Linked DNA regions of Homo sapiens: all the other regions are linked to region 3. The links are contacts of gene promoters, found by promoter capture Hi-C in blood cells and fetal thymus (Javierre and others, 2016). All regions are on one chromosome and are shown on one strand. The core of a region is centred on a gene start or on the middle of the fragment in contact, and the rest is flanking DNA. Distances in the headings are between cores, read along the strand shown. Region 1 overlaps ZHX1-C8orf76 (ZHX1-C8orf76 readthrough). Region 2 overlaps ATAD2 (ATPase family AAA domain containing 2). Region 3 holds the start of FAM91A1 (family with sequence similarity 91 member A1). Region 4 overlaps LOC101927588 (a long non-coding RNA gene). Region 5 has its middle 50 kb from the start of NTAQ1. Region 6 overlaps NTAQ1 (N-terminal glutamine amidase 1).

Region 1 (3,444 bases), core at 576-3,075, 500 kb before region 3:
ATCTAAAACTAAGAACTGAAAATTAAAATCTTGCATTAAAAATGATTTATTTGGCTGAGTGCAGTGGCTCACACCTGTAATCCCAGCATGTTGGGAGGCCAAGGCAGAAGGATTGCTTGAGGCCAGGAGTTTGAGACCAGCTAGGGCAACACAGTAAGACCCTATCTCTACAAAAAAAAAAATTAAAAATTAGCCGGGCGTGGGTGACACATGACTGTAGTCCTAGCTACTCAAGAGGCTGAGGAGAAAGGATCGCTTGAGCACAGGAGTTTGAGGGTGCAGTGAGCCATGATCATGCCACTGCACTCCAGCCTGGGCCACAGAATGAGACCCCGTCTCAAAAAAAAAAAAAAAAAAATGTATTCAACTGGCTCCCTTGAATAAACATAATTCTTAAACTGCTCATATATACTTATTTTACAAAGTATATCATCACATTTGTTTAGACCAAAGGTATACAGTCTTACCTCTTAAGTTGGAAACTGATTGTATAAAATGCCAAGATTAAGTATCTTTTAAGATCAAAACCTGGCAACTACATACAAAGTTACATATTAATATTTACTTTAAGAATATCCTGTATAAAATGCAGATCTCCAAAATGTAAACTCAAATGTATATTCTGATTAATAATCTAAGTCAGCAACTTTAGTCATGCAAATCTGGTTATTGATGACTACAAATATATCAGAGCAACAAGGATACAATAAAATTTATCAATAATAGTATAGAAACATTGGCTCTTATTCTAAAGATAGTATCAGTTTTAAAAACAGAACTATAACTTACTTTTGAAACTACGTAGGATTATTTAAAAGGATTTTAAGTTCAAAAAATTTAGTCTTAACAGTAAATGTGCTTATCACAACATAAATAAATATTTATAATGATTTAAAAAATGTGTATTACTGGCTAGCACCATAAACAGTACAATAGATAATTCCAAAAATCTCTCTGAATAATTGCACTGACTATGATATTAGATTAAAAACTAGGTGCTGAACTTTCAACACTGTTTATTTAAGTAAAGTCTTTGGGCCCAAATCCACAATGCTGCAACACAAATAAAAGGGTTATTTCCTCAGCTACATTTGTGATCATTTTAATAATTTTAAAAGCATTTTCATTTAAGTATTAAGTTATAATTTACAGCAAACTAAGTCTCAAATATCACATTTTATGCTTAATTAGCATAAGAAATATAATACATCATAATATAACCTTTCCATCTTAATATAAAATATAATAATACAAAAGGGAGAAAAATCTTCAAAATGAACCACCTCTCCTATGCTATTAATTTCGCTAATAACTGTAAAACTTTGTCCCCAATTATTGAAAAAAAAAGAACTTACAATTATCATTAAAGGTGAAATAATTGCTACATCATGCATGAACTACCCCCCAAATCCGGTGAAATAATAAGCTTAGCTATAAAGGAAAGAAATCCACTAATGAGTGTTCACTAGCACAGGCACATTTATGTTTTCGGATTTAGCATATTTTCAAACCATCTGGCATTAATGCCTCTCTGGTTCACCCAGCCTAATCTGTTCAGAATTGAATATAAAACCAGAGCTACATGAACATTGAGGAAACCAAAGAACAGCACACGTGCATAAAATGTTCCAAATGTAAAGTTCTAAACTAGTTTCTATTTGAACTGTATCTTTAAAACATTTCCATTGAAGACGTTAAAGCTCTTTCGAAAATACAAGAATGGTTCAAGAAATCTCTATGAATCATCACTATCATCAGTTACCCAAGTATTACCCTTTCTCATTTTAATCCTGATTGTCAAATAAGGCGTCTGAAGAGGTACTTCAACAAAAAAGATTCATTGATAACTGAAATGCTATCATTTTATATCGAAAAGGTCCACGATTATACATTTTACTTTGTATAAAATTAGTCTGCTTAGCCTTAACATGCTTTGGGAAAGGAGAGAAAAGCTAAAAGGAAAAAAATATTCATGAAAGCCCTTTTTCTTTTATGTCCTGTTACCGCATTATTGTCATTGGCAGCACTCACATTTCTTTTGCTTAAAATCAGGAGTCAGAATTGCTACTTTAGAAATTAAAATAATCGATGGGTATACTAGGGCCAATTTCCCTGTTAAAACCAACTCCTGCTCACCTTCGCTCCCGACATAAAAACAAATGACTTTTTCAGAATAATTTTTCAGAAACGAAGATAATTAATGTAGCACCATATAACACAAATTAAAGCTTTCAGACAAAGACTGAGAAACAATGACCAACACCAGCAAATCTAAAGTGCTCTTATATATGTATACACACAACACACACACACACCCCAAACCAAATATTCACTGTTCCTGGGGGGAGACTGCTTCTTCCTCCCTAACCGTGAACCGCTGTATATTTTCCAATTTTGTGATTTTCCTTTTTCTGCTATCACATTAACCTCCAAGAGAACTGCTTAAGTTACATGGAATCCCAACCTAATCACATCACGACTTCTCTCTCAGCCTTTACATTTTTCTCTCAAATATTAGCTCTTCGCATTTTTTTTTTTTTCTAATAGCTGGGCTGAGTTGACAGAAAAGGGCTGTGGAATTCCTGCTCTGTCCGATATCTTCCCTGTATTCCTCTTTTCTCATCCCTAGTCTCTGTTCTAATTCCCCCGCCTGCTGTCTCTCATTGACGCCTTCCCAGCTGCTGGATCCTTCACTAACCTAAGCTAAGGATATCAAATGGAATCTTTTCCTTCTCAGGGGCTATGCTCTTTCCTTACAGTTACCCACGGAGGAGAGAGGACAGGAAAGGTACTAAAACAAAGAATTGCCAAGTCCCTTTACCTCCAACTTTGGTGTAAATATATAAGGAAAGGGGATCTGCCAGGGCTCTTCTTTCCTGCCCTTAGACCTTGTTCCTCTCACACCTCTCCTTCCCAGCCTTTTATACCCCTTGAGGTATTAGTAGATTGTTCACTGTGGGCCCTAAGGCTTGGAGGATTCCCATGGGTCAGCCCCCACACCCCCACGCCCCTACCATCCTCTTTAATTAACTTCTCCCTAAATCCCAGGGCTTCGTCACAATCGTAATATGGTTCTTAAGGACTCAACTCCCAGTCTTTCCCAAAGTTGGGACATGGCCTGGCCCCGAAACGGGTGCGCATAGCCTTCCTTGAACTGGAGGTAAAGACTTCTCCTGAAGGGTTTGCTGGGGCTCCAACCTCAGTCAGTGCGCTCAGCTCCAGCAAGAGAATCTCTCCTTACTCTCAGGGAGACTGGGTCCCCCACGAGGCAGCCACACGCCCCCGGAGGACAGCGCTCCTGACCTCCTCTAGGACTCCCAACATTACTGGGGTGCTCCCTCCGGCGGCGCCCTCCGCTGGGAATACGCAGTCTTCACTCCTCTCAACAATCCTAAGTTGCTGGGTCCTCACCAAGGCAGGGGGCTGAGATGTTCCCTCCAGAGA
Region 2 (3,591 bases), core at 990-3,489, 380 kb before region 3:
AACCAGTACTTTGTACAACTTGTTTATATTTTAATTGTATATAAACGTTTTTAAAGAAATATGTAATATTTTTATTTAGGTACCTCCAAACTTGAATTCACCTGTGTAAAACATTTTAAAAGGATACAATTCTCTTTTGAGTACCATTACAGCTATACAGGTTTCCACTGGTTCTATTTTTCTACTGTTATTGATGAGCATGCTAACACTGACTGTCTTACATATAGTAGACATTTCAAATAAATGGCTTGTATAGAAAAAAATTTCACATCACCATAAAATGCAGTGGGTTAAGTGGACTGAAAATGCAAATTAAAAGAGAGAAAAAAAAGAATCAAGGTAAACTTTGCTAAGAGTTTGCTCATGTTATTATTTTTAAATGTTTCAAAACATATCAACTGGTTTTTAGACTGCAGTGGATACAGGTAAAGTCTGACATAATAGTTTTATTCTTTTTAATGTCAACATCAAAAGATGACAGAAATTACATCCTTTGAAAGAAATAAATGAGGGGGAAGTTGAGATGATAACTTAAAACTGTATGAGAGAATAAAGAACTAAAAAACAATTTAGGAACTCTTAGGAGAAAACAGCATTGGATTTGGCAATGATTTCTTGGATGACACCAAAAGCACAGACAACAAAATAAAAATATGTAAGTTAGACCTCATCAAAATGAGTACCTTTTATGCATAAAGAACACTATCAACAGAGTGAAAAGGCAACCTACAGAATACGAAAAAAATCTGCAAATCATATACTGATAAGGTATATAAGGTTTTATATATACATACACACACACACATATATACACGCATACATATATATATCTCCAGAATATTTAAAGAACTCCTTTGCAAAACAAGCAAACCAATTAAAAAATAAGCAAAAGATGTGAATAGAGATTTCTCCAAAGATAGACAAATAGCCAATAAACACATGAAAAGATGCTCAACATCACTAGTCATTAGAGAAACGCAAATCAAAACCACAGAGATAACACTTCACACACATTAGGATGGCTACTCACAAAAAAAAAAAAAAAGGAGAAAATAGCAATTGTTGGTGAGGATGTAGAGAAACTGGAATCCTTGTGTGTTGCTGGTGGTAACATAAAATAGTAAGGCAATTCCTCAAAAAGTTAAACACAAAATTTCTATATGATCCAGCAATTCCACTTTTGGGTATACACTCAAAGAAGCGAATGCAGGGACTTGCACAAATATTTGTACTCATGTTCACAGCAGCATTATTCAATTCCCAAAAGGGGAAGCAACCCAAGTGTCCACTGACAGATGAACGGACAAACAAAACATGGTACATACAATGGAATATTATTCCTTCTTGTTTAAAAAAGGAAATTTTAACACATGCTACAATATGGATGAACTCTGAAGATATGCTAAGTGAAATAAGCAAGTCATAAAAGACAAATATGATTAGTCTAGGAATATGAGATTCAGAGAACAGTCACATTCAGAGACAGAAAGTAGAACAGTGGTTGCCAGGGACTAGGAGGAGAGAGGAACTGGGAGTAAGTGTTTAATGGGTACAGAGTTTCAATTCTGGAAGATGAAAAAGTTCTGGAGATGAATGGTGATGATGGTTGCAGAACAATGTGAATGTACTTAATGAACTGTAAGCTTAAAAACGGTTAAAACGGTCAATTTTATGTTATGTATATTTTGGTACATTAAAAAAGAAAATAAATGCTACCATATTCCTGAGGATAAAAAAAGATTTTGTTTCCTTACAAAACAAGAAAAGGGGTGGATGGGGACAATACTAGGAAAAAACATTTCCTAAGAAACTTGGAAGACAATCTTATAAGTGGTATAAGAGAATCTTTGATGTGCATAGTGAACGGCTTGTCATTCTCTCCAAATAAGTACTAGGCAGCAAGAAAGACTCAACAATGTGGGCAAAAAAAAAAAAAAATTATGTGGGAGTCCTCTATATAGAGTATACACTAAAAAATTTTTAAATGCATCTTTCAAAAACAGTTCTAACAAAAGCAATATAAAAATAAAGGCAATACATGCCCATTATTACTGGAAAAATGAAAATGTCACCCTTAATTTCAGCCACTCACAGACAACCTCTTTTAATCTCTTGGTGCAAAAACCATTTTTTTCCTATGCAAACATATTTACATGATTTTAAAACTGAGATAATACTATATGTTTTATAAGTTTTTTCTAGTAATATCAATATTTTTTCATGTCATTAAATATTACTCTAAAAATTTAATGAATGAATAGTATTTCAGCCATTACATGAATCTATTTAACAAATTGCTGAATGTATTATATTTAGGTTGCCTGCAATTTTTTCTGATGTTATAAATATCTCTAGATGAATTATCTTGTGTATATCTTCTTTCCTAAGGAAGACTAGCACAGGTATTAAACCGAAGTCATCTAATTCCCAAGAGGTAAGTTCAACACTGTTAACAGTAATTAACATTGGATGACAGAGATGGGGACTTTCACTTTCTATTTTTCACATTTTCACATGTATTACCAGAAAAAAATTCCTAAAAACTAAAAAACAAAGAGAAAACAAACTTAGTCTGAAATTTTAACCTAGAGATGTAATATTCTCATTTATTCTTTGGCTAAAATCTACTTAAATATTGAGAGCACTTATAGTTCTTTAAAAGTGAAGTTTTAAGAGAGGAAATGTTAGTATTTTGTTAAATTTTAAGTTTCTCACAACCTTGCAGAATCAGTAAGTTAACATAGAGAAAAAGCAGCAATAAAATAACAAAAAAGTTTTCCTAAAGTATACACAGTTGCATAATAAAAATATTCTATGTTATTTTTCACAGAAGACCAAGCTTATTCAAGCTTTAAATTCATTTTTTAAAAAGCATGTTTGGGGGGGAGGTCAGTTGTTTGAGTCAATTCAAATATCAACAAATGAGGTTGAAATAGGATGTACTCAACACAAATTTAGGGCTCCCTGAAAACTTAAACAACAGTATATTCTAATACATGATATACATGTTATATCACTATAGTTGTGATATCCTTCCTTAGTTTTGTCTTTAAACATGAGTTTAAACCACTTCACCATCTACTCGGTAAACTCCAACTTAGTTTCTACCTCCACAGCTCTTTCAGTACATTCACAACTGTCTCCCAATAGCTACATCCAATAGCCTTTTCTCTACCTCACTGAATTCTACAGAACTGATCACTACCTTCTTTATTTATTTTTAGAGATAGGATCTTGCTCCTTCACCCAGGCTGGAGTACAGTGGCACAATCATGGCTCACTGCAGCCTCAACTTCCTGAGCTCAAGAGATCCTCCTGCCTCAGCCTCCCCGGTAGTAGCTGGGGCTACAGGCATGTGCCACCACGCCTGGCTACTGATTATGTATTTTATCTTATTTTATTTTATTATTTTGAGACGGAGTCTTGCTCTGTCGCCCAGGCTGGGGTGCAGTGAGTGTAGCAGCACGATCTCAGCTCACTGCAACCTCTGCCTCCTGGGTTCAAGCGATTCTCTCTCTCAGCCTCCTGAGTAGCTGGGACTAGAGGCAGGCACCACCACACCTAGCTGGTTTTTGTAGAGACAGGGTTTCA
Region 3 (3,455 bases), core at 564-3,063:
TCAGCTACTTGCCGAGTGAGAATCTTTTCTAGTCACAGGGTCGCATTTTCAAAGGTCTGTTTGCCTTATTAATTTAATGGGTGTAGGTTCACCTCTACTTATCCCACGTTCACTTTTATAGTTTTTGATGTGTCCACTAAACTCAATATAGTGAGTTTATCAGGCATTCACCTGCTGAACTGCTATCATTAGCTAAAATAATAGTTTACAGGGATTTTTTTAAGCTAAATTGACTTTAATTTTCATTGTTACTTATATTGCATTAGATCTAAGTTAGACTTTGGAAGAATATGGGTTCTTCCACACTTAGAACTGTAAAGCATTATTTTAGAGGATGTTTATGTCGTTGACTTTGAATGAACATTGTCTAAATTGGAACAGGAGGTAGAAGAGTTCAGTGAGTGAGAGCCTGAGTTGGGGAACTGAAAGGATGGCTCTGGAGTGAGGATAGCCTTCGGCTCCAGTTTGGCTCTGTCAGTGCTACCTGTGTGATCTTGCGAGCAAGTCATGAAGCCCTGCCAAGCCTCAGTCTCCTCCTCTATCAAACTGGGATAGTAAGTGGTTACTGTTGTAGGAATATCAGGGTTGTGAGGAATAATCTATTGTCAAGTCAAGGCCTTAATACATGGCGGGCAGGTAATCAATATTTGTTGAATAAATGTCTCACGGTTAGAGTTCAGTTAACCTTAGCTATGCTGATGAGGATCTGTAAACATAAGGTTCAAAGCACTTATCTTTGGGTTATTATAGTTGGATAATAGGAGACCAAAACATCTAAGCAAGGGCAGTGTGTACTTGTCACCTTTATTTCATCAGACATAATGGGGTTTCTGCTAAGCATCAGACTTGCCAGCTGTTGAGGTGTGAGCTAGGTATCTTATAAAAAGTTCTAAGTATACATCTCCCAGTATATAATAAAACATTATTTAAAACCATTGTTAAAAACTGAAAAACAGTTGCAATAACACTGAACTTGTCTCTGGTTGCTGCCAGGAATAATGGTCACGGGTTTGCTAAGGCAGCGTAACAACTTCTGAAAGAAATTATTCCCAAAGACCTTATCACTCAATCTGAAATTAAGACATGCTGGATTTTTGCTTTTAAGTGACTCTGGAGGCATTTGTGTGGAGCAGAATAAAGCAGAAACCGACAGGCTGCATGACAAAGTTGGCAAGGGTATCTCTCTGTCAGCCCTGTAGGCTGCCTCGACCTGTCAGCACCACTGTTTAAAATTTCAGCTCCCTGAATCCCTGCATTGTAAGAATTTGGATCTTCTTGGGAAGTGGAGCCCAATGACGTGCAGCACACCGCGGAAGGGAAGAGGGCTTACCAGACCTTTGCTCTCCCACTGCCCATGCTTCTCGCTCAACCCGGTGCGAGACCTGACTTAGAGATTATTTCTTTCTCCAGGGCCCTGGACCCGTCCCCGCAACCCCCCGCCCCGTCTCACTGGCCCGGGTTCCGGGCTGGCCTGTGGAGAACCCCCGCGAGCGCACCGCACTCCAATGTAAAGCCAGCCACTGCCGGCCCGCTTCCCAGGTCGCTTTTCTCTGAAAACCGACCCCAGTGCCTCCGGCTTTACAATTTGAGTAAACTGGGTCATCAGCAACGGCAACGCAGACCCAAGCGACTATCGCCGTTCATTCAGAGACTGAAACGGGGAGACGAAGCGCGCGGGCGGGGAACGCTCACCCGGGCACCTCCCGGTACCTCGTCGTCGCCCCGCCCCGCAGCCTGTAGAGGGCGTGGCTAGAGGCCAGTCCGTGCCCCGCCCCTCCGGCCGCGCGCCAGCGGGCGGAAGTGACGTGTGCCCAGAGCCATTTCCGGCGGCCCGAAACTAGGAAGAAACTTGGAGCTGTTCAGGCGATCCAGCCTCCAATCGCTGCTGCTCTTGTACTCGGTTGGCCCGGGCGGCGCTGAACTGTCGGGAGCCTAGGCCATGGGGCAGCCTGGGCCTTCTGCAGTGTGAGGCGCGGGGCCTCCCGCGTCGCTCCGCTGACAGGCTGCGGGCGGGCAGGCGGGAGGCGTAGTGTGGGTCGCGGTGGCGGCCCCGGCCGCCGGCCCTGGCCGCGGCATCATGAACATAGACGTGGAGTTCCACATCCGGCACAACTACCCCTGGAACAAGTTGCCGGCCAACGTGAGACAGGTACGGCCGGAACCTGGGACCGGGCCCCTGACGGATTCGGCCCGCCCAGCGGTCACCTGCTTGCCTCGCTCGCGGGGCCCGAGCGGGCTGCTGCCGGCTGACTCCCTTCCTTTACTCCTCCGTGGTCTTGGGGAGACGGACCTTCAGCCCAGGGCGAGGAGGGGACGGCTGTGGGGCCACAGGGCCAGGACGGGGCGATCGCTAAATGGGATGGCATGGTGTCCACAGGACTCGACTGGCGCCTTTGCCCGCAGGATACATTCAGCCAGGCACCTGCGATAGAGATTTTAAACACGGTCCTTGACCTCCGGAATTTCAGGATGGTGGGAAAGGGATGGGAAACAAATGAATACGATACAGGATGATAGCAGCTCATACACACCTGCATTGTAGTATATGTGAGAGCAGAGGGAGGGAGAAATTATCCTGGGAGAGTTGGAAGGATTTTTAAGGCAGGCACTTAAATTGGGCCTTGGAGGACGAATAAGAGTTAAATAAGAGGGAATAAAGATTTTTCCAGGGGGAGGGAAAGTCATTTTACAAAGCTTGGATGAGTGAAAGAACATGTCTCATGAGTAGCAAGTGACTGTATCACCAGAGTTTGGACTGACATGTTTGGAGTTGAAGTTTTTTGAGTGCGCGGGGCTGGTAGCAGATGAGCCTGGAAAAGTGGTCAGGGCCAGATTTTGAAGGTGCTTGTGTGCTTTGTTTTGTTGGACTTTATCCTCCAGACAAGATGGGTTTATCAGAGATGTTTCAACAAGAGTGACATGAGGTTTTTGAAAGTTAATTCTCGATTTTTTTAGTCTGTTTTACTCAATTGTTTAATAGATATTTATTGACCACCTACTAGGTGCTGTGCGTTGCTCTAGGTGCAGGTAATTTGCAACAGTCAACAAGACAAAGACTGCCTTCATGGAGCTTACATTTTACTAAAGAAAGACGTAAACAAATAAATGAATAAATACGTAACATAGCAGATGGTTTTAAGTCTTACGAAAGTAGTGATATGGGCTACAGATAACGCACTGCTGCTCTGGTCATAGATTGACCTTCGCTTCCTCCCATTATACTTGGTCGAGAGTGAAATTCAGTTTTCTGTTGGCACTCGGCAGTGGCATTTTTGGGAAGTTTGGAATGGTGGCGGTGATGGTATATAAGGATTATTTATTTATTTTTATTTTTATTTTCATTTCTTTGAGACAGAGTCTCCTGTTGCCCAGGCTGGAGTGCAGTGGTGTGATCTCCGCTCACTGCAAACTCTGCTTCTTGGGTTCAAGCGATTCTCCTGCCTCAGCCTCCCGAG
Region 4 (3,779 bases), core at 1,076-3,575, 430 kb after region 3:
AGTTCACAGGAGAGGAAGCTAGATCTACAATTACACAATTATACCATCACTGTGGTGTGCAAACTGTCCCCAAGACTGTCATCTTAATAATGCATGTCATTTGCTGTTGGAAAAAAAAAATACATTGAATATTTAGGTGAGGCCCCAAGCTACACATACCATGATCACATTCGATCCTCCCAATAGTAAAATGGGTGTGTTTATTCCATCTAATAAATGAGGAAACAGAAGCACAGAGACATTAAGTGACATGCTCAAGGTCACACAGCTGGTAAATGATGGATTAAGGATTTGAACTCAGACTCAATTGTTTTCAAAGCATCTATTCCAATGAGAATGAAAATGTTGGCCAGGCACAGTGTCTCACGCTTGTAATCCTAGCACTTTGGGAGGCCGAGGCGGGTAGATCACCTGAGGTCAGGAGTTCTATACCAGCATGGACAACATGGCGAAATCCCGTCTCTACTAAAAATATAAAAATTAGCCAGGCATGGTAGCGCATGCCTGTAATCCCACCTACTCGGGAAGCTGAGAATCGTTTGAACCCGGGAGGTGGAGGTTGCAGTGAGCTGAGATTGCACCACCACACTCCAGCCTGTGCAACGGGAGTGAGACTCCATCTCAAGAAAAAAAAAAAAGAAAGAAAGAAAGAAAGAAAATGTATTGAATTAATGTTACTGAAATAAGGCCAGAAAACCTAGATTCTATTTCTAAATTTACCACTAACAAGTTGTAGGAACTGGGAAAGACCTTTCATTCACTGGGACCTAGCTTCCTGTTCCATAAATGGAGAGAACAGAGCTGGGTCAGTGATGGCAATATGTGACCACTTTCTCATCCTATGCCCAAGACAGATGTGACTGTAAGACCAGGGTACCATTTCTGCCTGAGCTCAAAGTAGGCTTCTAATGTAGAGCTTTATCCAGCCCCTCCCAAACAATTGCTATTGGCACAAATAAAATGCATTTGCCACCCCTTGGCCCAACGAGCTCTCAGATCCATTCCAACTCTATTTAATTCATGAAAATTCTGGCCCTGGATTTTGTCATTTCTCTGCAGTGTTGGAAGAAAAATAGGAACCGCTTATCTGTGATTCCACAGAGCAGAATCCTGCCAGAAGCAGATCCCTGCTGTTCTCCTGACAGATCATGGGCTGTGCTCAGAACTTCAGGGGCAGGGGTGTAGGGGCCTGCCACAAATGACAGGAGGCCACGATTCCATTTCGTCTTCTTCCTTAACTCTGATCCACATGAATGGAAAGCTTTCCTTGCTCTGACATTACTGGAACATCACATAGTTCTCTTATGAAATGAATCTCTATTGCTGAAGTGGCTTGATATCAACAATAAGGCAGCCAAAGAGGTACATGGAAAAACCCCACTGTCTTCCCATGCTGATTGGCTTACAGGATGAGGGGGTGATGGAGGGCCAGTGAGTCAGAGCTATTTCTACAGAAGACATCCAGAAACACCAAGTTAAGTCAAGTTGCTGAGTCTGTGGTGAGCCCAAGACAGGAGGTAACAGAAGAATGGAAAATCAGGACAGCATTGAAATCTGATGCTGAGTTGACAAGTTGCTGTCAAATGCCAAGCACAGAGGACAGCAGGAAGTGAGCCAACTGCAGAGAGCTGAGCACCTGGCCAGATCATCAGGCTACCTCTGTCCAGACCTCAGCAGTGCCCAGGCCTTCACGTAGCAGTCACAGGTCACTGCATCCTGCCAAAAAAAGGCAGTCCATTCTTCAAGGTGTCTGTTTGAGTCTAGTGTCAAATTACCCCAGATTGTCAGCAAGTGCCTGTGGCCCTGGCTTGCCCTGGTAGATGAGTCAGCCCAGCTGTGAAGAAAGCCCTGCCGGGCCCTGGGAGGCCAACGCATGCCAGCTGAGGCAAGAAGACAGCATCAGCCCTGAAGCCTGTGTGGACAAGGAGCCCACTCCCTAACTGAGGCCTGGGACCCCTAACCCCACCCCGACTTCAGATGGGGCTGTGTTTCCAGGACTGCCTCATACCCCATTTCAAATCAGGCTACTCAACAGTGACATTTAGTAACAGAAATCATGAAGATTCATTAGATGACTCAGAGAAAAAACAAACAAACACTCTCTCCAAGAAAGAGAAATTCACAGGAAGGGGCCACATCCATCCAGTTCTGCCCTTCCCGTTTCTCTAGCTCAGTGGTTCTCAAAGTGTGGTCCCTGGACCAGCAGGAGTGACAGATTTTTGCCACGACACCACTTCAGTAATGTTAATTAAATATATTTCCATTCTTTTAAGAGTCAACATAGCTTAGTGAGAAGAGCAGAAGCTCTGGAGCTTGTTAGAAATGCCCCACCCCAGACCTCTTGAATCAGAAATACTGGGGTGGGGCCCAGCCATCGGTGGCCTAACCAGCCTTCCAGGCGATTCTGAAGCCTGCTGAAGTTTGAGAACAAGGACGTCTCCAGCTGAACCAGCCACCCCTCAGGAGTAGAGGGAATTCCTGCTCCCCGGCCCAACTTTGTTATGGAAACCTCCCAGGACAATCTGCATCAGCGAGCTGATCCTAGTCCCCAGCAGCAGGTGACAAAAGGATCTGGCCTCAGGACTGTGTCATCCCTAGGACGTGATAACAGGCCATTGTGGCTGGGGCATATTAGTGGGTGCAAAAGGAGATATAAATCTCGTATTTGGGAAAGGAATGGGAGGGACTGAAGAGCAAGGAAAACTAAGCCCCTTCTTATCTCCTCAATGCTCAGCCACTAGAAACTCGTAATTAGAGCTATTAATAGCCACCATTTATGTAGAAGCTGCCATGAGCCAGGCACAGTGGGACATACTTTACCTGTTTCATCTCTCAGCAAATTTTGAGGGACGTAGCTTTATCCACCCCATTTGATAGAAGAAGAAACTGAGGCTCAGTGAAGCTAGACGTCTTGTTGGAGTGTGTTCTTTGCACGCATGAGTTGGGACCCGACCTCACGTCTAAGTGGGCCATCTTGACCACAGCACTGCCTTAATCCAACAACCATCGTCCCTCCCCACCCCCTCCACTCTTCAAAGGGCCTCATCGTGGGTGATGTGGGGCCAGACTAAGACCAGGAATGTGGACTTTCTCACACATAGTAGGTGCTTAACAGATGGTAGTGCTCTCTCCTTGCCTCTTTGGACACCCACAATGGAGTGATTCAGAGCCCAAGTTTTGGGCAGATTGTACATGCATGGGCTAAATGGGCTCTGAGAGTCAGCATCCAGCTTCACAAAACAGGAATAATGATAGCTGCCTCCCGGGGATGTTATGGAGATGCAATCTGCTATGTCTATAGCTATGTCTATAAAGCTATGTCTATAAAGCACACAGCGTTCCACACGTAATAAGCAGTGACTAAGTGGTCATTACTACTTTACCATAGTCAAGCTTAATACAAGTGTGTGAAGAGACAGGTAAGGGATTTTCATCCCTACTTTGTGGTTACAGACATAAGCTTCAGAGAGGCTGAGGGGCAGACCTAGAATGACACGGCTGGGAGGGTGATGGCAAGAGGAGAAGCTCAGCCACCCACCCGGCATCAGCTTCCATTCCTCCATGCTATGCTGCCTGGCCTAGCAAGGGCACCCCTGTGTCATGTTGATTCTCTTTTTATTGCAGAAACTCGCTCCCGCTTGTGCACAGTCCAGGAGCTTTGCCCCAACTAGTGCTGTCACAAGTCATGTGACAACAACCAGGGGAATGTTCCCATTAACAGAGACGGTGGGACGCCAAGGCATGCTCCCACCTCCAGCCTCCCATCATTGTTGTAACAT
Region 5 (3,342 bases), core at 98-2,597, 300 kb before region 3:
AATTGCAAAAATAAAAGGGAGTTCCATGTACCCTTCATCTGGCTTTCCCCATTGATAATGTAGAACCACCGTACATTTTCAAAACTAGGAAATTGACATTGACATTGACACAATACTGTGAACTAAACTATAGACCTTGATTTTCATGAATTTTGACATGCTCTTGTGTGTGCATGTGTATAAACAGTACTGTGAAATCTTGTCACACATATAGATATGTGTAATCACTACCAAAACAAGGACACCGTCACCAGCTTCCGTCACTGCAGAGAAACTCCCTCATACTAAAGCTTTGTAGTCAGGCCCTCCTGCCAACCCTAACCCCTGGCGACCACTCATCTGTTCTCTATCACCAGAATTTTGTCATTTTAAGAGTGTTCTGTAAATGGAATTGTATAGTACGTACCCTTTTGAGATTGCTTTTTTCACTCAGCATAACATCTTTTTTTTTTTTTTTTTTTTTTTTTGAGACAGAGTCTTGCTCTGTCACTCAGGCTGGAGTGCAGTGGCACGATCTTGGCTCACTGCAAACTTTGCCTCCTGGGTTCAAGCAATTCTTGTGCCTCAGCTTCCTGAGTAGCTGGGATTACAGGCGCCCGCCACCATGCCAGGCTAATTTTTGTGTTTTCAGTAGAGATGGGGTTTCACCATGTTGCCCAGGCTGGTCTCGGAACTCCAGGGCTCAAGCGATCCACCCACCTCGGCCTCCCAAAGTGTTGGGATTACAGGTGTGAGCCACTGCACCCAGCCAGCATGACATCTTTGAGTTCCATCCATATTGTTGCCTGTGTCAGTAGTTCATTCTTTCTCTATAACTTAGAGTTGTATTCTGTTGTATACCCATTCACAGTTTGTCATTCTGCATGAAAGTCATTTTAAATCCTGTCCAAGAGGACCCTCTGGGAGGGTGAGAGGAAGCCAAAGAGTGAAGTCTGAGTGGACGGGATTGCCAGAGAACCAGGGGCTGAGGGCAATAGCAGCTGGAATGGAATGCTTCTCCCTTGTTCTGAGAATTACAACTGGAGAGGTTCCCAGAGATGGGAATCACCAAAGATCCCAAGAAAAGTGCCCCAAGTGAGAGGCAGCTTTATATAGCTGCAAAGCCCAGTGAGCAGGAAGTCAGCTTACAACTGTGCCACTCAGAAGCCAATTAAAGTAGCTCCAGACATAACCACTTACCTCTTTGCCGTCTGTCCATTTGGGCATGGGATCCAAGCCAGTAGCTAGTGAGTGGAGGAGGATTATGGCGCATGGTGCAAGACAGAAGAAAATGACTACTTTCCCCTCACCTCCCTGGGAACTGCCAGCTCTCGCAAAGAAGGGGAAGAAATCTTTTGAGTGAAAATGGAATTGTTGATGAATAGAATGAACTGACTCACTGAATTACTCTAGTAAGACCATGTTTGTGACTTGATGTGACCATCAGACTGTCATTACTTGAAAGTGACACAGCAGGCAGGAGCCTGCAATTGTTTTCATCTGGAGTGAGGACAAGATTCTTTTCTCCTGCTGCCCCTCCTCCCTTTTCCCCCCTGGCAAACTGTATACATGGATGTGCAAATATCTCTTTGAGATCTTGTTTTCAGTTCTTTTGGATATATACCAAGGAATGGGATTGCTGGTCATATAATTGCTGGTAATTCTAGTTTTAATTTTTTGAGGAACCTCCATTCTGTTTTCCATGGGCGATACCATTTTACAGTAAAGGGATGATGGAAGAAAAACAATAAAGTGGCATTTTGATTATGTTACCCTATCAGTTACATAAATAACTTGGAAATAAACATCTTCTATATATAAGTTCTTTTTTTAATAGTATAATTTTCCTTAGAGCAAATTCCTGAGCATGGTATTAATAGGTCAAAGGACCAGGAAATGTTTGTGGTTCTTGAAACATATTCCAAATTGCTTTTCTTTCTTTCTTTTTCCTTTTTTTTTTTTCTCAGTCTGTTGTCCAGGCTGGAGTGCAGTTGCGTGATCCCGGCTCACTGCAAGCTCCGCCTCCTGGGTTCAAGTGATCCTCAGCCTCCCTCAGCTGGAACTACAGGCATGCACCACCATGCCCGGCTAATTTTTGTATTTTTAGTGAGATGGGGTTCCGCCATGTTGGTGAAGCTAGTGTTGAACTCCTGGCCTCAAGTGATCGACCTGCCTTGGCCTCCTAAACTGCTGGGATTACAGGAATGAGCCACTGCGCCCGGCCGCCAAATTGCTTTTCTAAATGTTTGTGCCAACTTACATTCCCACCAGATATTGTATGAAGGTTTTATCACATATTCAATGGCATGAGATAGTGTTATGAGATTGTTAATGTAATGGGATTTAAGTACCATTTTGATGTTTGAAATAATTTTTAAAGTGTTTTCATAAAATAATTCTTGCATTAAGTGTTTTATCAATGTCTTTAAGCTTGGCTTTAGTATCTTGAGTATAGAATGTAGCTGAGGGTCTGATTTCATAAATTAATTACTGGCCATTCATATCCAGGTTCCAGAGGGTTCCTTGGAGCAGTTAGAACCAGACCAAATCCTGTAGAATTGTGAGCAAGGAAGAAAGGGAGAGGCAAGGGCCAGAGGAGCAGTGAATATGAGAGACAGGTTCAAGGTATCTATTTTTATTTTATTTGTTTATTTAGAGATGGAGTTTTGCTCTTGTTGCCCAGGCTGAAGTGCAATGGCACGGTCTCGGCTCACTGCAACCTCTGCCTCCCGGGTTCAAGCGATTCTCCTGCCTCAGCCTCCCAAGTAGCTAGGGTCACAGGCGCCAGCCACCACTCCCCGCTAATTTTGTATTTTTAGTAGAGACAGGGTTTGCCATGTTGGTCAGGCTGGTCTCGAACTCCTGACCTCAAGTGATCCACCCGCCTTCACCTCCCAAAGTGCTGGAGGTTCAGGATCTCTAAATGAGAGGTAAACAAACTGAAGCAGGAGGCCAGATCAAGGAGATGCCCACCATGATGTCAGGAGGTGAGTTGGGAAAGGGCCTCAGGAGATAGGGATTCTTGCGTGGCCCCCAAAGGGGGTAGTGGGGTAGGGAATAAGCTTCCTCCTACCCTAAGCACCAATAAATTCAAAACTTTATTTATGTATTTATCTATTTATGGTAAAAATATAACATAAAACTCACTATCTTAAAGTGTACAGTAGTGTTAAGTATATTTGCATCATCATGCCACAGATCTCCAGAAGTTTTCATCTTGCAAATGGAAACTCTGTACTCATCAAACAACTCCCCATTTTCCTCTCTCCATATCCCCCCACTAACTGCCATTCTACTTTCTGTTTCTATCAGTTTAACTACTTTAGATACCTCGTATACGTGGAATCATAAAGCATTTATCTG
Region 6 (3,381 bases), core at 27-2,526, 330 kb before region 3:
GTAGAGAAGGTTGCTGCAGATGGAGGGGAATGACATGAGCAGACCCATTGGGAGGCAGTGGTGGACTGTTTGGGGGCGTGGAGGATAGGATGTATCTGGGGAAGTCCAGAGAATAGGCATTCATTTTTGAATCTTTCTGTTTTGCTAAGACAGACTTAGAGCCAAAGGCAGCACTCAGGCTTTTAAAGGCACAGCATCCCTAGTCTTAAGTATTGTTCTTACCTCAGGATTTATACAGGGCTCAAGTAGAATGATATTTGAGAAAGAAAGTGCCTTTTAAACTCTAAGATATTGTAGAAATATAAGTTGGTATTACTAATGTTGCTAGGTTGCTTTGATTTCACAGTGCTGTTCTCTATGAGAGCGTTTTTCTTTGGAAGAACTCAGAGCACCACATTGCTCATGTCCCTTGATCACCTCCCTGAAATCCCTTTCAGCTCATCGCTGGTGTTGGGCAGTACCTTGAGTCTGAGAGTGAGGGTGAGAATTAACATCCACACTGTGACAGAGCTGTGTGGGAAAAGCTGTCTTTTTCTTTCTCCCTTAGTGGCTACAGATGAAAGCTTGGCTAACTTCTTTTTTTAAAAAATAGTTTTTCCTTTCTTTTAATTGCAAAAGTGGTTCCAAACTAGAAATTAAAGTCCTCCTTCTCCTCTCCAGGCTGACCCCCAGAAGCCTCCTTTGTTACTAGTTTGGAGCAGATCCTTGCAGACGTTTTCCTCTGCATTCACATGCATGCAAATGTACTTCTGAATGCGCACGTATGTCTTTATATACAGATAGCTTTTAACAAATAGCAGGTGGGGCCGGCACTGTGGCTCACACCTGTAATTCCAGGACTTTGGGAGGCTGAGGCGGGGGGATCACTTGAGGCCAGAAGTTGGAGACCAGCCTGGCCAACATGGTGAAACACCATCTCTACTAAAAATACAAAAATTAGCTGGGCGTGGTGGCGGGTGTCTGTAGTCCCAGCTACTCAGGAGGCTGAGGCAGGAGAATCGCTTGAACCCAGGAGGCGGAGGTTGCAGTGAGCTGAGATTATGCCACTGCACGCCAGCCTGGGTGATAGAGCAAGACTCTGTCTCAATTAAAAAAAATATGTGGGGCCAGGCACCGTGGCTCACACCTGTAATCCTAGCACTTTTGGAGACTGAGGCGGGTGGATCGCCTGAGGTCAGGGGTTCAAGACCAGCCTTGCCAGCATGATGAAACCCTATCTCTACTAAAAATACAAAAAATTAGCTGGGCATCGTGGTGCGCGCTTGTAATCCCAGCTACTCGGGAGGCTGAGGCAAGAGAATTGCTTGAACCCGGCAGGTGGAGGTTGCAGTGAGCTGAGATCATGCCACTGCACTCCAACCTGGGTGACGAGAGTAAGACTCCATCTCAAAAAAAAAAAAAAAAAAAAAGTTTCCTAGAGGTAAAATTGCAGTTTCAGAGGATGTGCATTTAATGACTATGAACATTTCCATTATTTAACCATTTCCCTATCTGTGGACATTTAGTCTGTTTTCATGTTTTCAGGGTGTTGTGTTTGCTTTATTCTATTTTGCTATTATAAGGAGGGCTGTAGCAGTCCTATATCCTTTTTAGTGATAAGGTATGTGTCTGAATACTGGGATTTCATCATTATGAAGTAACTTGGTTAACTTCAGCAACTTTTACTTTTAGGATTACCATGTTGTTTTGCTTCATGTTTCAAGTGGAGGACAGAACTTCATTTATGATCTCGATACTGTCTTGCCATTTCCCTGCCTCTTTGACACTTATGTAGAAGATGCCTTTAAGTCTGATGATGACATTCACCCACAGTTTAGGAGGTGAGGACATTCAAGATGGATTTACTTATTTTCTGAAGTAAGAATTTGACGATTCCACAGAGGTTCTTTTTTTTTTTGACAATTGTTTTGTAAAGATCTCGTCTGACATCACCATTGAGTTGATGTTTAAGAATGATGTATTTGCAACACAGGAGATTCAAAATGTTTTAAAGCTTTAAAAGTTATCTATCATATGAAAGGTTGTCATTCTTTTAAAATTTTGTGTGATGAGATCTCAGACATTTAATTTCAAGCGGGTTGGGGATTTTTCTTATATTCTTTTTGTTTTTGTGGGGATACCTCGTGCTGTCACCATTGAGAGGGCTGTGAGGGCAGCATCAGAAAATCATGCCCATTGCCCTTGATACACAAATCGAGTAAATCGAGGCAACCAGATATATTTTTGTGCCTTTGCCTTTCTGTTTCGGGGTTTGGTTGATCATTTCCTATGCTTCTCTAATAGGTAGTAAAGTTGCCTGTATTACTAACCATACAGAAATGCATGAGTAGTTTTGTGCATGTCATAGGAAATGAGTCGATATAAAAATGGAGTTAGAATTTCAAACATGACATCTCCCTAATGTGAGTGTATATTGATTTTTCTGCAGGAAATTTAGAGTGATCCGTGCAGATTCATATTTGAAGAACTTTGCTTCTGACCGATCTCACATGAAAGACTCCAGTGGGAATTGGAGAGAGCCTCCGCCGCCATATCCCTGCATTGAGACTGGAGGTGAGCCAAGATGCCTTCTCAGATGGGGGTTCTGATTGATCACATACACATCAGCATTTTTCCTTAACGGAGGACAAAAGTCAGGTTGTTCTTTGAATAAAACTCCATGAGTGAATCCCAGCACTTTGGGAGGCCGAGGTGGGCGGATCACGAGGTCAGGAGATAGACACCATCCTGGCTAACACGGTGAAACCCTGTCTCTACTAAAAATACAAAAAATTAGCCAGGTGTGGTGACAGGCACCTGTAGTCCCAGCTACTAGGGAGGCTGAGGCAGGAGAATGGTGCGAACCTGGGAGGCAGAGCTTGCAGTGAGCTGAGATCGGGCCACTGCATTCCAGCCTGGGTGACAGAGTGAGACTCCATCTCAAAAAAAAAAAAAAACAAAAAACAAAAAACAAAAAATTCCATGAATGATAAGGAGGTCATAGGAAATACTACTTCTGTGTGTGTATTAGATTCAGAAATGAAGGCACAGAGAATAGGACTGGAAGGCATAAGAACATGTGGGAGAGGAAGGGTGTTAAGGATCAGAACCAGGGCACCTGCAAACTGCTGGATTATTGGATGTAGCTACTGCGGGGACACTGAACATCAGGATACTCGCATGCTTGTGTCATTTAACAGCGGGACTAGTAGCACCTTGCCATGGTAGGGTTTTGTGCTGTGGTGAAAGAAATCCCCATTGCATCCTTATGATGTGTGAAATGTCACTTTGGCTATATAATAAAATCTGCATTAGAGGGAGGTGAGCGCTAGCAGGTTTTATTGTACCACTTGTCTCATTTATGTGCTTTTAGGCATCAATCCAGTTGATAATTTCCTGACA

The links. The method cuts DNA at HindIII sites, captures the fragments that hold promoters and counts their contacts. A CHiCAGO score of 5 or more calls a contact.
Region 1: a fragment that was not itself captured here is called in contact with the fragment with the promoter of FAM91A1 in region 3 in 10 of 17 cell types (fetal thymus, total CD8 T cells, non-activated CD4 T cells and 7 more); the score reaches 8.3 in fetal thymus.
Region 2: a fragment that was not itself captured here is called in contact with the fragment with the promoter of FAM91A1 in region 3 in 2 of 17 cell types (fetal thymus and erythroblasts); the score reaches 7.5 in fetal thymus.
Region 4: a contact is called between a fragment that was not itself captured here and the fragment with the promoter of FAM91A1 in region 3, in 1 of 17 cell types (neutrophils). The highest score is 5.8, in neutrophils.
Region 5: a contact is called between a fragment that was not itself captured here and the fragment with the promoter of FAM91A1 in region 3, in 4 of 17 cell types (M0 macrophages, M2 macrophages, endothelial precursors and 1 more). The highest score is 8.0, in M0 macrophages.
Region 6: a fragment that was not itself captured here is called in contact with the fragment with the promoter of FAM91A1 in region 3 in 1 of 17 cell types (M1 macrophages); the score reaches 5.4 in M1 macrophages.

The regions. Positions count from the first base shown.
Region 1 is chr8:123,270,447-123,273,890 of GRCh38, forward strand. The region is part of intron 1 of ZHX1-C8orf76 (ZHX1-C8orf76 readthrough); the gene reads right to left. The region is part of intron 1 of ZHX1 (zinc fingers and homeoboxes 1); the gene reads right to left. Among named protein-coding and RNA genes, the nearest start is that of ZHX1, 2.1 kb to the right of the region's middle. RefSeq lists a silencer at 3,097-3,444. The HindIII fragment of the contact is 802 bases long and covers 1,425-2,226 here.
Region 2 is chr8:123,384,991-123,388,581 of GRCh38, forward strand. The region is part of intron 1 of ATAD2 (ATPase family AAA domain containing 2); the gene reads right to left. Among named protein-coding and RNA genes, the nearest start is that of ATAD2, 9.7 kb to the right of the region's middle. The HindIII fragment of the contact is 1,196 bases long and covers 1,642-2,837 here.
Region 3 is chr8:123,766,626-123,770,080 of GRCh38, forward strand. It overlaps FAM91A1 (family with sequence similarity 91 member A1), which reads left to right and starts at 1,814. Exons shown (of 24, transcript NM_144963.4): 1 at 1,814-2,149. The coding sequence starts at 2,078. RefSeq lists a silencer at 2,000-2,149. The HindIII fragment of the contact is 7,175 bases long and covers 1-2,692 here.
Region 4 is chr8:124,198,461-124,202,239 of GRCh38, forward strand. All of the region lies in intron 2 of LOC101927588 (a long non-coding RNA gene), which reads right to left. Among named protein-coding and RNA genes, the nearest start is that of FER1L6-AS2, 29 kb to the left of the region's middle. The HindIII fragment of the contact is 2,132 bases long and covers 1,260-3,391 here.
Region 5 is chr8:123,465,133-123,468,474 of GRCh38, forward strand. It overlaps a transcript of NTAQ1 not described here. Among named protein-coding and RNA genes, the nearest start is that of NTAQ1, 50 kb to the left of the region's middle. The HindIII fragment of the contact is 2,119 bases long and covers 289-2,407 here.
Region 6 is chr8:123,434,782-123,438,162 of GRCh38, forward strand. NTAQ1 (N-terminal glutamine amidase 1) reads left to right here. Exons shown (of 6, transcript NM_018024.3): 4 at 1,672-1,820; 5 at 2,429-2,553. Among named protein-coding and RNA genes, the nearest start is that of NTAQ1, 20 kb to the left of the region's middle. The HindIII fragment of the contact is 1,430 bases long and covers 562-1,991 here.